Regions from separate parts of the Homo sapiens genome. Here region 2 is linked to region 1. The links are contacts of gene promoters, found by promoter capture Hi-C in blood cells and fetal thymus (Javierre and others, 2016). All regions are on one chromosome and are shown on one strand. Each heading gives the region's core, a stretch centred on a gene start or on the middle of the fragment in contact. The rest is flanking DNA. Distances are from core to core; before and after follow the strand shown. Region 1 overlaps SUGP2 (SURP and G-patch domain containing 2). Region 2 holds the start of CERS1 (ceramide synthase 1).

The links. Contacts are between HindIII fragments. The CHiCAGO score rates a contact against its expected background, and 5 or more counts as called.
Region 2: a contact is called between the fragment with the promoter of CERS1 here and a fragment that was not itself captured in region 1, in 1 of 17 cell types (monocytes). The highest score is 5.6, in monocytes.

The regions. Positions count from the first base shown.
Region 1 is chr19:19,005,594-19,012,328 of GRCh38, reverse strand. It overlaps SUGP2 (SURP and G-patch domain containing 2), which reads left to right. Exons shown (of 11, transcript NM_001017392.5): 5 at 1,987-2,474; 6 at 3,901-4,012. Among named protein-coding and RNA genes, the nearest start is that of SUGP2, 25 kb to the left of the region's middle. The HindIII fragment of the contact is 6,346 bases long and covers 1-6,030 here.
Region 2 is chr19:18,890,975-18,897,609 of GRCh38, reverse strand. CERS1 (ceramide synthase 1) reads left to right here and starts at 1,452. Exons shown (of 8, transcript NM_021267.5): 1 at 1,452-1,786; 2 at 4,035-4,194. The coding sequence starts at 1,538. It overlaps GDF1 (growth differentiation factor 1), which reads left to right and starts at 1,452. Exons shown (of 8, transcript NM_001492.6): 1 at 1,452-1,786; 2 at 4,035-4,194. RefSeq lists a silencer at 2,402-2,451. The HindIII fragment of the contact is 17,655 bases long and covers 1-6,635 here.

The sequences.
Region 1 (6,735 bases), core at 1,608-4,107:
TGATGAGGAGTTGCCTTGCTGGGGCTGTGTTTGACTTGAGAACCAGAGTGCCCATGTTGGTCAGCATTCTCTTAATTGAGCGCTATTGCTTATTAGGGCATGATCTTGCAGGATGCCACCGTTAGCCCAACAGAGTGCCAGGGCAGCAGTGGAGCCGGTACTCAGTCGTTTTGTCAGGTCCAGACAGACCTCAACTGGCTAACAGTGTCAGCAGGAGCTTGTGTATGGAGCTGCCTGCCAGGGACATGCCACATCACACAGTGCTGCCAATGCTGTGCAACACACAGCCACCTTACTTCTAGTTGGCTTGTCACTGGTAATCTGGAACCTCATCTAATAACTGATATGTCGCTACTTAATATCAAACAATCTGAAAGCCACCTGAAATACTGCCATACTTACTAAGCAATATTCTTCTTTAACACAAACTGAAATCAAATATTCACAAAAGTCTGTTATGTTTGTTGTGGGGTGGTTATTTATTTATTTATTTTTAAAGAGATGGGGTTTCGCCATGTTGCCCAGACTGGTCTTGAACTCCTGGGCTCAAGCGACCCACCTGCTTCCGCCTCCCAAAGTGCTGGGATTACAGGCGTGAGCCACCACGCCCATCTTAAAAGTTCGTTATGTATGAAATCACAGAGAAAATCACAGCACACCCAGGAAATTCACGTGGGCCACATTATGCCAATACAGCAAACTAGAAACCAGCAACAACCAAAATAAAACATGTTTCTGAATAACTTTTGAGTGAAGGGTAATCATAGCTGAAATTAGAAGCAATTTAGAAGGAAGTGGCAAGAAGAACATTATATACCAGATGCAGTCATAAAAATACTTAAGAGAAAGAGTGACTTCAGGTGACTTTATTAGAAATAGTGGGCCAGGTGCAGTGGCTCACACCTGTAATCCCAGCACTTTGAGAGGCTGAGGCGTATGGCTACCTTGAGCCCAAGAGTTTGAGATCAGCCTAGGCAACATGGTGAAATGTCCTCTCAACCAAAAACACAAAAATTAGCCAGGCGTGGTGGTGCGCGCCTGTAGTCCCAGCTACTGGGGAGGCTGAGGTGGGAGGATCACCTGAACCCAGAAGGTCGAGGCTGCGGTGAGCTGTAATCAACTCATGAAGCTAGAAGGAAAATGATGAAAAAAGTAAAGACACTAGAAGGAGAAGGTTTTTTTTTTTTTTAAAGATAGGGTCTTGCTCTGTTGCCCAGACTGGAGTGCAGTGGTGCAATCACAGCTCACCACAGCCTCTCGACTTCCTGGGCTCAAGTGATCCTCCCACCTTAGCCTCCAGAGTAGCTGGGACTATAGGCATGCACCACCACCCTGGCTAATTTTTTTATTTTGTGGAAATGGGATCTTGTTTTGTTGCCCAGGCTGGTCTTGAACTCCTGGGCTCAAGCAATCCTCCCGCCTCAGCCTCTCAAAGTGCTGGGATTACAGGTGTGAGCCACCACGCCCAGCTGAATATTTTTCTGTTAGTACATGTAGCTCAACCTTCTCTTTACTGTTCTCATCATGATGACTGGGTCATAAGATTTCACACCTGGGCCGCAGGCTCCTTGGTTAATGTTCTCTTGTGGTTCACATCACACTTTCCTTGATGCAGTCAAAAGCTCACCGAGCACTCATCCTGGCTGGGCCATTTAAAAGGTGTCAATTCTGCCTGCCAGGGTGCTATGGCTCCAAGGTGACTGGTTTGTGTTTCCAGGCCATCAAGAGCTGGGAGCTCCCTCACGGCTGCTGCTGATGGAAATCAAGGAGGAACTCAGTTCAAACTCCCGATTGCCCTGTGGTCACTCTTAGCAGGGCAGCTGTCTTGGGCCTAGCTCTGGGTCCTCAGTAGAGCCAGGCAGAGCCTCTGAGACAGGAGAGGACAGTGAGGAGTTGGCCACTTAGAAAGGGTTTGTGTTTGAAGGAACAATTTGGGACCTGGTGGTGTTTTCATAAATGTCCCGTTATGCTTGTTTTGTTATCTAGGTTTTTGTCTGATGAAAATAGTCTGGAGTATAAATATTACAAGCTGAAGTTGGCAGAAATGCAGCGGATGAGCGAGAACTTGCGAGGAGCCGACCAGAAGCCGACCTCAGCAGACTGTGCAGTGAGGGCCATGCTGTACTCCCGGGCTGTCCGCAACCTCAAGAAGAAACTCCTTCCGTGGCAGCGGCGGGGGCTCCTCCGTGCTCAAGGGCTCCGGGGCTGGAAGGCGAGGAGAGCGACCACCGGGACCCAGACCCTCCTATCCTCAGGCACCAGGCTGAAACACCACGGCCGGCAGGCTCCAGGCCTCTCACAGGCAAAACCATCCCTGCCAGACAGAAATGATGCTGCCAAGGACTGCCCGCCAGACCCAGTTGGACCTTCTCCTCAGGACCCCAGCTTAGAAGCCTCAGGCCCATCCCCCAAGCCAGCAGGAGTGGACATCTCTGAAGCACCTCAGACCTCTTCTCCCTGCCCATCTGCTGACAGTGGGTGCTCACTCCTGTCCCCCTCCTCTGGGCCCCAGTCCCTACTCTCCCATCTCCAGGGTCTCTTTAGAATTGGGGGGGCCTGCAATCTAGGCAAGGCAGTGGATAAAAGCTCTAGGGACCTGGCCAGGACAAGTGTACATGTTGGCGCTTTCTCTCTTGCTTTCTTGAGAGAGCTGCATGCGAGTCCTGCAGCTCCCTCCTCCTCTTCTGAGAGCGGAGCTGGTATGAGGTGCTGCCCCATGCCTTCGTGCTCCCCGACAGGGTCCTGCTGCTGGGGCCGTGGGCGGTGCATTGCCTGAACTTGGGATCCCATGTCCTGCTATATCCTGGCCTCCCTTGATAGTCTTCGGGACTGCCTTGTTCTCATTGCGCCTCCTCATCCCCAGGGTCTCCACAGTTCCTGTTCTTGGGGTTCGCTGACCTGCACTGCTTCCTCCGAATCGACTAACTTCACCCCTTCTGTTTCTTCTGTCACCTTAGCTGTTTCTTTCTCTCTGTACCACAGGCCTGCTCTCTGGCCAGTGCTTCCTAAGCACTAAGTGGGAAGGAGAGAGCAAAAAAGTGTCCACAACTGCTGCATTATTTAGGTGTTGCTGTGTCGTGAGCCGTTCCAAACTGTGGCTTAAAACAGGAGGCATCAGCTGGGCGTGGTGGCTCACACTTGTAATCCCAGCACTTTGGGAGGCCAAGGCGGGTGGATTGCCTGAGCTCAGGAGTTCGCAACCAGCCTGGGCAACATGGTGAAACCCGATCTCTACTAAAAATACAAAAAATTAGCTGGGCGTGGTGGCACATGCCTGTAGTCCCAGCTACTCGGGAGGCTGAGCTAGGAGAATCGCTTGAACCCGGGAGGCGGAGGTTGCATTGAGCCAAGATCTCACCACTGCACTCCAGCCTGGGCGACAGAGCAAGACTCCATCTCAAAAAAAAACCAAACAAACCAACCAGGAGGCGTCCGGTATTGTGAATTTGCCAGTGGCTGGGTCATCTGCTGAGCTAGCCCACACATGTCTGCGGTCAGTGGCAGGTGTCCAGGCTGTCAGCTGAGATGATGGTGTGGCTGGGCCACATGCCTGTCATCCCCCCAGCAGCCAGCCCATGTTTGTTCACCTGGCAATTGGGGTTGGGGCTTCAGGAGAGACAGTGGAAGTACTCAAGTCCTCCAAGGCCCAGGCTTGGAACTGGCAATGGGCTTTTCCACCACATTCTATAGCTGATGTGAGTCCCAGGACCAGCCCTGATTCAAGGTGGGGATACACAGAGTTCACTTCTTGGTGACAAAGGGTCCACATGTGACGAAGGGCAAGGCTACAGGGAGGGGACATGCAGGCCATCTTTATAATCAGCCTCCACAACCCTGCAGTGTTTACACGGGGAGCAGCAGCTCAGGAGTCATGCCTGACAGGTGCTTTATGTTTTGTAGTTGACATGAAGACAATGGAGACTGCAGAGAAACTGGCTAGATTTGTTGCTCAGGTGGGACCAGAGATCGAACAATTCAGCATAGAAAACAGCACCGATAACCCTGACCTGTGGTACGTACCCCCCCGGGTCTCATCACACCTTTTTCTTTCTCAGAGAGACAAAGTCTAAGGATGTTGCTTAGGCTGGATTTGAATTCCTGGGCTCAAGTGATCCTCCTGTTTCAGCCTCCAGAGTAGCTGGGACCACAGGTGTGCTCCACTGCAACTGGCCATTACACCCTTTAGATTTGAGTGTGTTCACGCCACAAGCATGTCCTGAGCCAGCCCACAGCCTGGCCAATGCATTCCTACTATGGGGGTTATACCAGGAGTAAGTCATGACTTCACTTCAGCTGAGCCAGGGGCCTAAGGGAGAAAGATCTGTTCTAATCACCCGAGTTCAGGAGTTCGAGACCAGCCTGGCCACCATGCTAAAACCCCATCTCTACAAAAATACAAAAATTAGCCGGGCATGGTGGCAAGCACCTGTAATCCCAGCTGCTTGGGAGGCTGAGGCATGAGAATCGCTTAAACCCGGGAGGCGGAGGTTTCAGTGAGCTGAGATTGAGCCACTGCATTCCAGCCTGGGCAACAGAGCGAGACTTCATCTCCAAAAAAAAAAAAAAAAAAAAAGGCTAGGTGCAATGGCTCATGCTTGTAATCCCCGCACTTTGGGAGGCTGAGGCGGGTGGATCATGAGGTCAGGCATTTGAGACCAGCCTTGCCAACATAGTGAAACCCCGTCTCTATACTAAAAATAAAAAAAATTAGCCGGGTGTAGTGGCAGGTGCCTGTAATCCCAGCTACTCGGGGGAGGCTGAGGCAGGAGAATTGCTTGAACCTGGGAGGCGGAGGTTGCAGTGAGCCGAGATCGCGCCATTGCACTCCAGCCTGGGCAACAAGAGTGAAACTCCATCTCAAAAAAAAAAAATCTGTTCTAGGGGACCTGCCTTCATCTCGGGCATCAGGAAAAACCTCCCCAGAGGGACATTTAATCTGCATCCAAAGGCTAAATAGGAGTTGGCCAGGGGAGGGGAGAGAGGTGAGGATTTGCTGCTCACTGCATGATAGTAGTGATAGTCAGCCCTTGCCCAGGTCTGACAGCAGGCACTTCTACACAGGGATAAGGTGGCGTGCTCATGCTGGGAGCAGGTACCTTTGCCCTCTCCATTCCTTGGATAGGTGGAGCTCAGCTCAAAAGCACACAGCCCATAGGCAAGAAAACCTGGGTGAGGAGCCAGCACTGCCCCTGGGGTTTTTCCCCGGGGTGACATGAGATGTCCCCTCCAGAGAAAGGCTGCCGGTAGGAGGCACCCATCTTCCCATTACTGAGCCAGAACCCTACTGAGGGGGCTCTCAACTCCTCGTGCTGGTCCTAGCTTGTTGGACAGTCATGCCTTCATCCAGTTAAAATTACAGTTGAAAACGTGCATTTCTCAGAGCATTTATGGGATTCAGTGGTGACAGAACATACTCTTTCAACTTGCTTGGGACCTGATTGCACAAGCCAAGCCCTACTCCCCTCCGCAGCCTTGGCTTATGACTGGGTCCTGCACTAAGGTACCACCTGCCTTGTGGGGCACTGACCACCTACAGACGGGAAGCCTGACCAGGCTTACAGTCAGGTTTTGCCTTTTACAGGCAGTAGTGGCCTTGGGGAGCTGCTGGGCCCTGTAGACCTCGGGGTCGGACCTGTCCACTGTGTATGTGGGATTTCCTCTGGCAGGGTTGGATAAGGAGGACAGCTCAGTGCAGGGCAGCTGGGGGCATCCCATGAGTCCTTTTTTCTTTTTCACTTTCTTTTTTTTCAATGAAAAGTACAGTTTAAAGGAGAATTTTGCATTAGCCTGGGTACTTGGGCTGTAGTACTTGTTGGGTTTTGGGTGATTCCTCCCCATCTGTGACAGCCTTTTCTGAGCAGTGTCCTTCAGAGTACTCTGTCCTGTCCTTCCCTGGAAGGAGAGCCCTGGATCCTGACCACAATACTGGGCAAGGTGTTGGACGCTATCCAGCCATGCTTGTAAATGGGCCAAGATGACTTTGTGTTTCTTTTGCCTTTAGAAAAAATTTAATTCTAATGTGCTCAAGCTTATTGAGTTAATTCATTTTGTGGGTGTGGTTATGTTATAAAGTTGTCATACAATCCGTTTTATTTATTTATTTATTTTTGAGACGGAATTTCACTCTGTCGCCCAAGCTGGAGTGCAGTGGTGTGATCTCAGCTCACTGCAACCTCCGCCTCTCGGGTTCAAGCGATTCTCCTGCCTCAGATTCCCAAGTAGCTGGGATTACAGGTGTCACCCAGCTAATTTTTGTATTTTTAGTAGAGACGGGGTTTCACCATGTTGGCCAGGCTAGTCTTGGATTCCTGACCTCAGGTGATCTGCCTGCCTCAGCCTCCCAAAATGTGCTGGGAGGCATGAGCCACCATGCCCGGCCCAGATTCATTTGTTTCTGCTGATATTTAGTTGTATGTGTGTGTGGTGTGTGTGTGTGGTGTGTGTGTGTGTGTGTGTGTGTGTGTGTGTGTGTGTGTGTGTGTGTTTGTTAGCCTGGTATAGTGGCATTTGCCTGTGGTCCTAACTACTTGGGTGGCTGATGTAGGAAGATTTCTTGAGCCCAGGAGTTTGAGGCTGCAGTGAGCTGTGATCACACCACTGCACTCTAGCCTGGACGACAGAGTGAGACCCCATCTCTAAAAATGTGTAATAATAATTATAAAGCCGTCCAGCTTTTCCAATACCATTCTTTGAAAGACCCACCCCTTTTTTGTAGTAGTTTGAGAGGTTACCTTA
Region 2 (6,635 bases), core at 203-2,702, 110 kb after region 1:
AACAGCAGAAAAGCCCACAGGCGGAGGGAAACAGGGCGCTGTGAGGGCAGCCAGTGAGGACTTGGGCTTTCCCTGAGTGGAACAGGAGCCATAGAGGGCTGCAAGCAGACGAGGAACAGGCCAACAGCGTCGCAGCCACCTTCTCACCTCTGTGGGGTGAGGAGGAAGCCAGGATACCAGACGGAAGAGGGTAGTGGTGGTAGTGGTGGTGGTGGCGGGGAGCGGGGGGCAAGGCTGTGCAGATGCAGAGAAGTGGCCAGATGCAGGGCCACCTGGATGTGTTGTGGGGGACTCGGTGTGGGGCAAGGGGAAGGTGTGTTCACCTGTGCCCCTGAAGTTCAGGTGCAGGTGTTCGGGAGCCAGCGCGGCTGCTGCAGGACTCATCCCTGCATCCTGCACCTTGAAGGCCAGGTGTGGGGACATCCTGCGGGCTAGGATGGAGGGGGGGTGCAGCAGTGCCTGGGGAGATGGCGGTCCTAACAGAGGTGACCAGTGTCTTCCTCGATGGCCTTCAGTGGCTTTGGGCACAGGGCCTTGTCAATGAACAGTGCATTGGAAAGTCACTTATGGTGGTCCCAATGATGTCACAGTCGATCCAGATTGGGAGTCCCTCCCACGTTGGCACCCACTCCTGCAGCCTCTCTGCAACTCATGTATTAACCTGATGTTGGGGAGCCCCCCCCCCGGGTTCCCCAGGGTCACAGCAGCAAGTGACCCTCAGAGAACCCCCTAATCTCAGCAGCCCCCATCACACCTTTGTCCCAGTAGCCCGCTGTGCAGACCTGCAGAAGAAGATGCCTGGGAAGTGCCCAGGGTACCCGCGTCCAAGCTGGAACCCCATTGCCAAGCTCCTGGTGTAGGGCAGAGAGCTGCGTCTCCACTAGGTGCGCCTCCCAACGCCCTGGCGTGGGCCGTGTCCTTTTGAAGAATGAGAATGTTTCATTGAGCCTACGCCTCCTGAATGCGGGAGGGCCACGGGATGGTCCCAAGACTGTGCCAAGGCGTGCCAGGCCTCGGGTCCTTGAGAAGGAGCGAGGGCTCCAAGAACGGTGAGGTCGGAGCGGGCCGGGGCGATGGAGCGGGAGCGGCGTGGCGTGCTGGAGGGCCGGGAGAAGCGGGGGTCGCCAGTCGAGGGGACTGCCTGCTAGTGTCCCCCGTGCCCCCCGTCACGGGCACGGCGCGGTGGGGTGGGGGAGCGGGGGGCGCGCGGGGCAGGCATGGGGGCGCGACACGGCGGTGCGCGGGGTCTCTCGGGGTCCAGGTCCAACGGGCCCCCAGCTCCGGCCCCCGCGCCTGGGTTTCTCTGCTGGGAAACGGGCAGGGGCGCGGGCCCGCCTCCAGGGCGCCCCGCGTCCCCGCTGGCCGCCCCCCAGCCGCGCCCCCAGCGGGGCGGAGCTTGCGCCGGTCCCGCCCCTCCGCCCTCCGCTCTCCCGCCCGCGCGCCCCCGGCCCAGCTGCGGCGCGTGACGCGGGGCGCGCGGCTCCGTCGGCTACCGCGGGCGGGCGCAGGCGACGGGCACGGCGGGCGAGCGGGCGGTATGGCGGCGGCGGGGCCCGCGGCGGGGCCGACGGGGCCCGAGCCCATGCCGAGCTACGCGCAGCTAGTGCAGCGCGGCTGGGGCAGCGCGCTGGCGGCGGCGCGGGGCTGCACGGACTGCGGCTGGGGGCTGGCGCGTCGCGGCCTGGCTGAGCACGCGCACCTGGCGCCGCCCGAGCTGCTGCTGCTGGCGCTCGGCGCGCTGGGCTGGACCGCCCTGCGCTCCGCGGCCACTGCGCGCCTCTTTCGGGTCAGTGTGGCCGGGGGCCGGGACGAGGGGACCCCGGACTGGGGGAAGCCGGGACCGGGGACCTGGGGCCGCCGGCGCGTTCCTTTCTTCCAGCGCTGGCTGCTGCGGATGAAGGGGTCGCCGGAACGTGGGTGGGGGCCTCGGGCTGGAGAGGCCCAGGACGTTGGAGCCCCAGGATAAGGTCTCTCGGGCCGCCGCGCGCCCCCTTCAGACAGTGCTGCGTGGGGGAACCGGGTAGATGCGGGGGTGTGGCCGGGCTGGGGTGAGTCTGGGACATGGGGGGCCCGAGACAGGTGGGATGTTTGAGACGTGGGGGACCGAGGCACGGCCCTTTCCGGTCAGTTTGGGACCAGGGGGCCCCGCGCGGTGGATGGCTCCGGCCACCGCGCGCTCTTTCCGGCAGGGCCGAGCCAGACACTGAGAAGCCCAGGACCGGGAACGGGAGGGCTCGGCGCACCGCGGCCTGCGCCATGCGCCTCCCTGCCATGCGGGCTGCGCCCCGGCCCGGAGCGAGGTCCGCTGCCCGTTTTCTGCTGGGTCCGTGCGGCGGCGGGGCCGGCTTGCCCGCTGTAATCGGGAAGAGGCAGGAGCTGCCCGGTCGCTGCCTTGTGCCTATCTGGGGTCAGCGCCACCCTCCGACCAGGGATGGCAAGGGCCTGGGTGCTCTGGCCACGCCAGTGGTCGCTCCCTTGGAGGTGACATGGCCCGGGGCTTCAGGGTTGGACTGTGCTGCCTCCAAGAGGCGACAGCAGAATTCCCCAGTTTCTGCGGAGACCATCGCCCCTGCGAGAGAGTGACCATGATGGTGACATTGGCGCCTGACCCCACTCACTTCCCTGGGGAGGGGTCGCTGTGGCAGGAGCTGGTTGGAAGGTGTTTGGGCCTTTAGCTTGGCCTGGACACCCCCGTGGACCAGCTGGTGTCACCCCGCCCGTCTGGCTGGAGGGTGCAGGGACAATGTGCCCAGCGCCAACAAAGGGGCCTTTCTCTGCTGGCCGGGAAGAGGCTGGCCCTTGTGAGGTCGATGATGGGATGTTGTCTGACTGCCACTCTCCCCACTCCCGTCCCCATATCACCCACATGAGGGAGAGACCCCAGCCACACCCCTACTGTGGGAGGGGGAGACAGGGCTGTCCAGGGCCCCTCCCTGGGTCCGCAGTGGTCTTTATCCTGCTTGTTGCCCCTGCCTTCTTCCCAGTTTCCAGCTGGGAAGCCCGAGACCCAGGAGGGCAAGCCGTCCCCCACCCCTGCGGGACAGGAGGATGTGGCGGCTGGTAGACTACCAGGGCCGAGCCCCGGGGGCCCTCCCCAGCCCCTTGGGTGGGGTGCTCGCCCCATTTCGAGGCTCGCCCTTCCTCAGAAATGGGTGGAGGGGCTGCCGGGTGTTCCAAAGCTGATCTTCTTGGCAGCAGCCTGGTTGCCAGGGGTTACCGGAGCCGGCTCCAGCTGTCTCCATGACAACTGCTGGGTGCTCTGGGCTCCGGCCCCCTCAGCCTCTGGGAAGGGGGTGGGACTTGTCCAGGGGTGGGGCTTGGCCGGGCAGCTCTGGAGCCGCGCCCCGCCACCCACCCACCCACCGCACTCCCCAACCCCTGCCTTGGAGCCAGCAGCTTCCTCTGCACTCCCAATGTCCCCTCAGGGTCTCACCTCGCCTGTGACACCTTTTCCGCCTCCTGTCCCCTTTTTCTGCCTCCAGCCCCTCCTCCCCTTTCATCGCCCCCAGGTTCCCATGTCCCCGCCACACCTTCCCCCTAGTCTCTCCCAGCCCTCTAGCCTCTCCAGAATCTCCCACTGAGGGGGCGGCTTCCTCACAAGTTCTTCCTCTCCCCTCTGTGTCGGTCCCATGGGGCTCTCTGTGTTTCCCAAGATGCCCCCATATAACCCCCTCCATGTTCCCTTCAAGGGTCACCCCCACCAGCCCAACTCCCTTGGGCTGACGCATCCATCCGTCTCCCTCATCGTAAGCCCAAGTGTCCCCCTTCTGGCCCCCAGAGCCCTCCTGCTCCCCTCGGGGCCTCCCCCCTCACTCCCCTCCCAGCACCGCGGCGGCCGGACAGCTGGGCACTAAGTTTAGCCTTGGCAGGCGCCTGTGGGCTCTGTTTATGCTCCAGGTGGCTGTGGGCATGGGGGACAGGCCTTCCCAGTGCTGCCCGGCCTGGGGAGTCCCTGGGCCTCAGTTTCCCCACCCCAAAGGAGCAGTCTCTGGCCCCCAGCACCAATGGCTGCCCGCCTGTCTTCTCCCCCATAGCCCCTGGCGAAGCGGTGCTGCCTCCAGCCCAGAGATGCCGCCAAGATGCCCGAGAGCGCTTGGAAGTTTCTCTTCTACCTGGGCAGCTGGAGCTACAGTGCCTACCTGCTGTTTGGCACCGACTACCCCTTCTTCCATGACCCACCATCTGTCTTCTACGGTAGGGGCCCTGAGGGGATGGCCGGGAGGGCTCTGCTTAAAACACAAAGACGCCAGGCTTGTGGTCCCAGCTACTCATGAGGCAGAAGCAGGAGGATCACTGGAGCCCAGGAGTTGGAGGCCAAGGGGAGCTATGAGCACGCCACTGCACTCCAGCCTGGACGACAGAGTGAGACCCTGTCTTGTATCAAAAAAGAAAAAGAGGGCCAGGCGCAGTGGCTCACGCCTGTAATCCCAGCACTTTGGGAGGCCAAGGTGAGTGGATCACGAGGTTAGGAGATCGAGACCATCCTGGCTAACATGGTGAAACCCCGTCTCTACTAAAAATACAAAAAATTAGCCGGGTGTGGTGGGCGCCTGTAATCCCAGCTACTCGGGAGGCTGAGGCAGGAGAATCGCTTGAACCTGGGAGGCAGAGGTTGCAGTGAGCCGAGTTCGCGCCACTGCACTCCAGCCTGGGCAACAGAGCGAGACTCTGTATTAAAAAAGAAAAGAAAAAAAGAACAGTGTAAGGGGATGCTTATCAGAATCAGAGCTCCTATGGGTGTCTCAGAAGTTAAGCCAGCCCCAAGACAAAGGTGATCCCTGGGGACAGGAAAGGGGGTATCTGGCCGTGTTGGAGCTCAGGGAAGACATCCTGGAAGGACCCCTGTGTGGGTCCAGGCAGGCATTCCAGGTGTCGGTAACAGCACGTGCAAAGGCCCGGAGGCACTCACGTTTCATGGGGACAGGAGGAGGGTGGCTGCAGAGAGCTGAGGCAGCAGCTTGAGTTCTGTTCTGGATGTGGTTGTTTTTCTTTTTTTGAGATGGAGTCTCGCTCTGTCGCCCAGGCTAGAGTGCAGTGGCGCGATCTCGGCTCACTGTGAGCTCCGCCTCCTGGGTTCACGCCATTCTCCTGCCTCAGCCTCCTGAGTAGCTGGGACCACAGGCGCCCGCCACCACGCCCGGCTAATTTTTTGTATTTTTAGTAGAGACGGGGTTTCACCGTGTTAGCCAGGATGGTCTCAATCTCCTGATCTCATGATCTGCCCGCCTCAGCCTCCCAAAGTGCTGGGATTACAGGTGTGAGCCACTGCACCTAGCCTGAATGTGATGTTTTTAAGCACAGCATGGAGAGGATTGGGTTTTGTGGATGACAAAATGCTTCCTCTGGCTGCCCTATGGAGGTGGGAGGGTCCCCTCGGCTTGCACCATCTTGGTGAGGAGATAAACATGATGAAGCCTGGTGCGATGGCTCACGCCTGTTATCCCAGCACTTTGGGAGGCTGAGGCAGGTGGATCACTTGAGGTCAGGAGTTCAAGACTAGCACGGCCAACATGGTGAAACCCTGTCTGTACTAAAAATACAAAAATAAATTAGCCAGGCATGGTGGCGCGTGCCTGTAATCTCAGCTACTTGGGAGGCTGAGTCAGGAGAATCACTTGAACCCGGGAGGCGGAGGTTGCAGTGAGCCGAGATGGTGCCACTGCACTCCAGCCTGGGTGACAGAGCAAGACTTCATTTCCAAAAAAAAAAAAAAAGATGAGAATGAGAAGTGGGCTGGGCGTGGTGGCTCACTGGCTCACACCTGTAATCCTAACACTTTGGGAGGCGGAGGTGGGAGGATTACTTGAGCACAGGAGTTCAAGAGCAGCTGGGGCAACATGGTAAGACCTCCATCTCTACAAAAAATTAGCCTGGTATGGTGGGGCACGTCTGTAGTACCAGCTACTTGGGAGGCTGAGGTGGGAGAATTGCTTGAACCCGGTAGGTGGAGGTTGCAGTGAGCTGAGGTCATGCCACTGCACTCCAGCCTGGGCAACAGAGCGAGACCCTGCCTGGGGGTTGGGGGTGTGGAGGGGAAGATGATAAGAAGTGGCTGTGTCCAATTGATTGGAGTGGATGTGGCCTGAGCTCCGGGTGGGCTGGGCAGGGAGGTGACTGCAGCGCGCTCTGTGTGACCTGTCCTGGCAGAGAATGCAGGGCAGGGCCGGCATCGCCACTGGGCAGGCTGATGTAGGAAACCCCATCTGCGATGGGGCAGTGGGGGCTGCGGCTTCTCTGCCCTGCGAGGACCACCAGGGCTGTGGGCCAGGGACACACATGATAGCTGTTTCCTGCCATGTGATGGGAACAGCCTAGAGGGCTCCTGGTGGCACGGAGCCCAGAGTGTACAGTGGATGTGCCACCCATGGGGCCAGTTTTCCCATGTAACACACCTTGATCCCCTAGAGGGGAGGTGTTAGCTGTTGCTCAGTTTTCCTTCTAGACGGATGACCCATGATCGAACTCTCATAACTTTTTTTTTTTTTTTTGAGACAGTCTCACTCTGTCACCCAGTCTGGAGTGCAATGGCACGATCTCGGCTCACTGCAATCTCCACCTCCCAGGTTCAAGCGATTCTCCTGCCTCAGCCTCCTAAGTAGCTGGAATTATAGGCACGCGCCACCACCCTCGGCTAA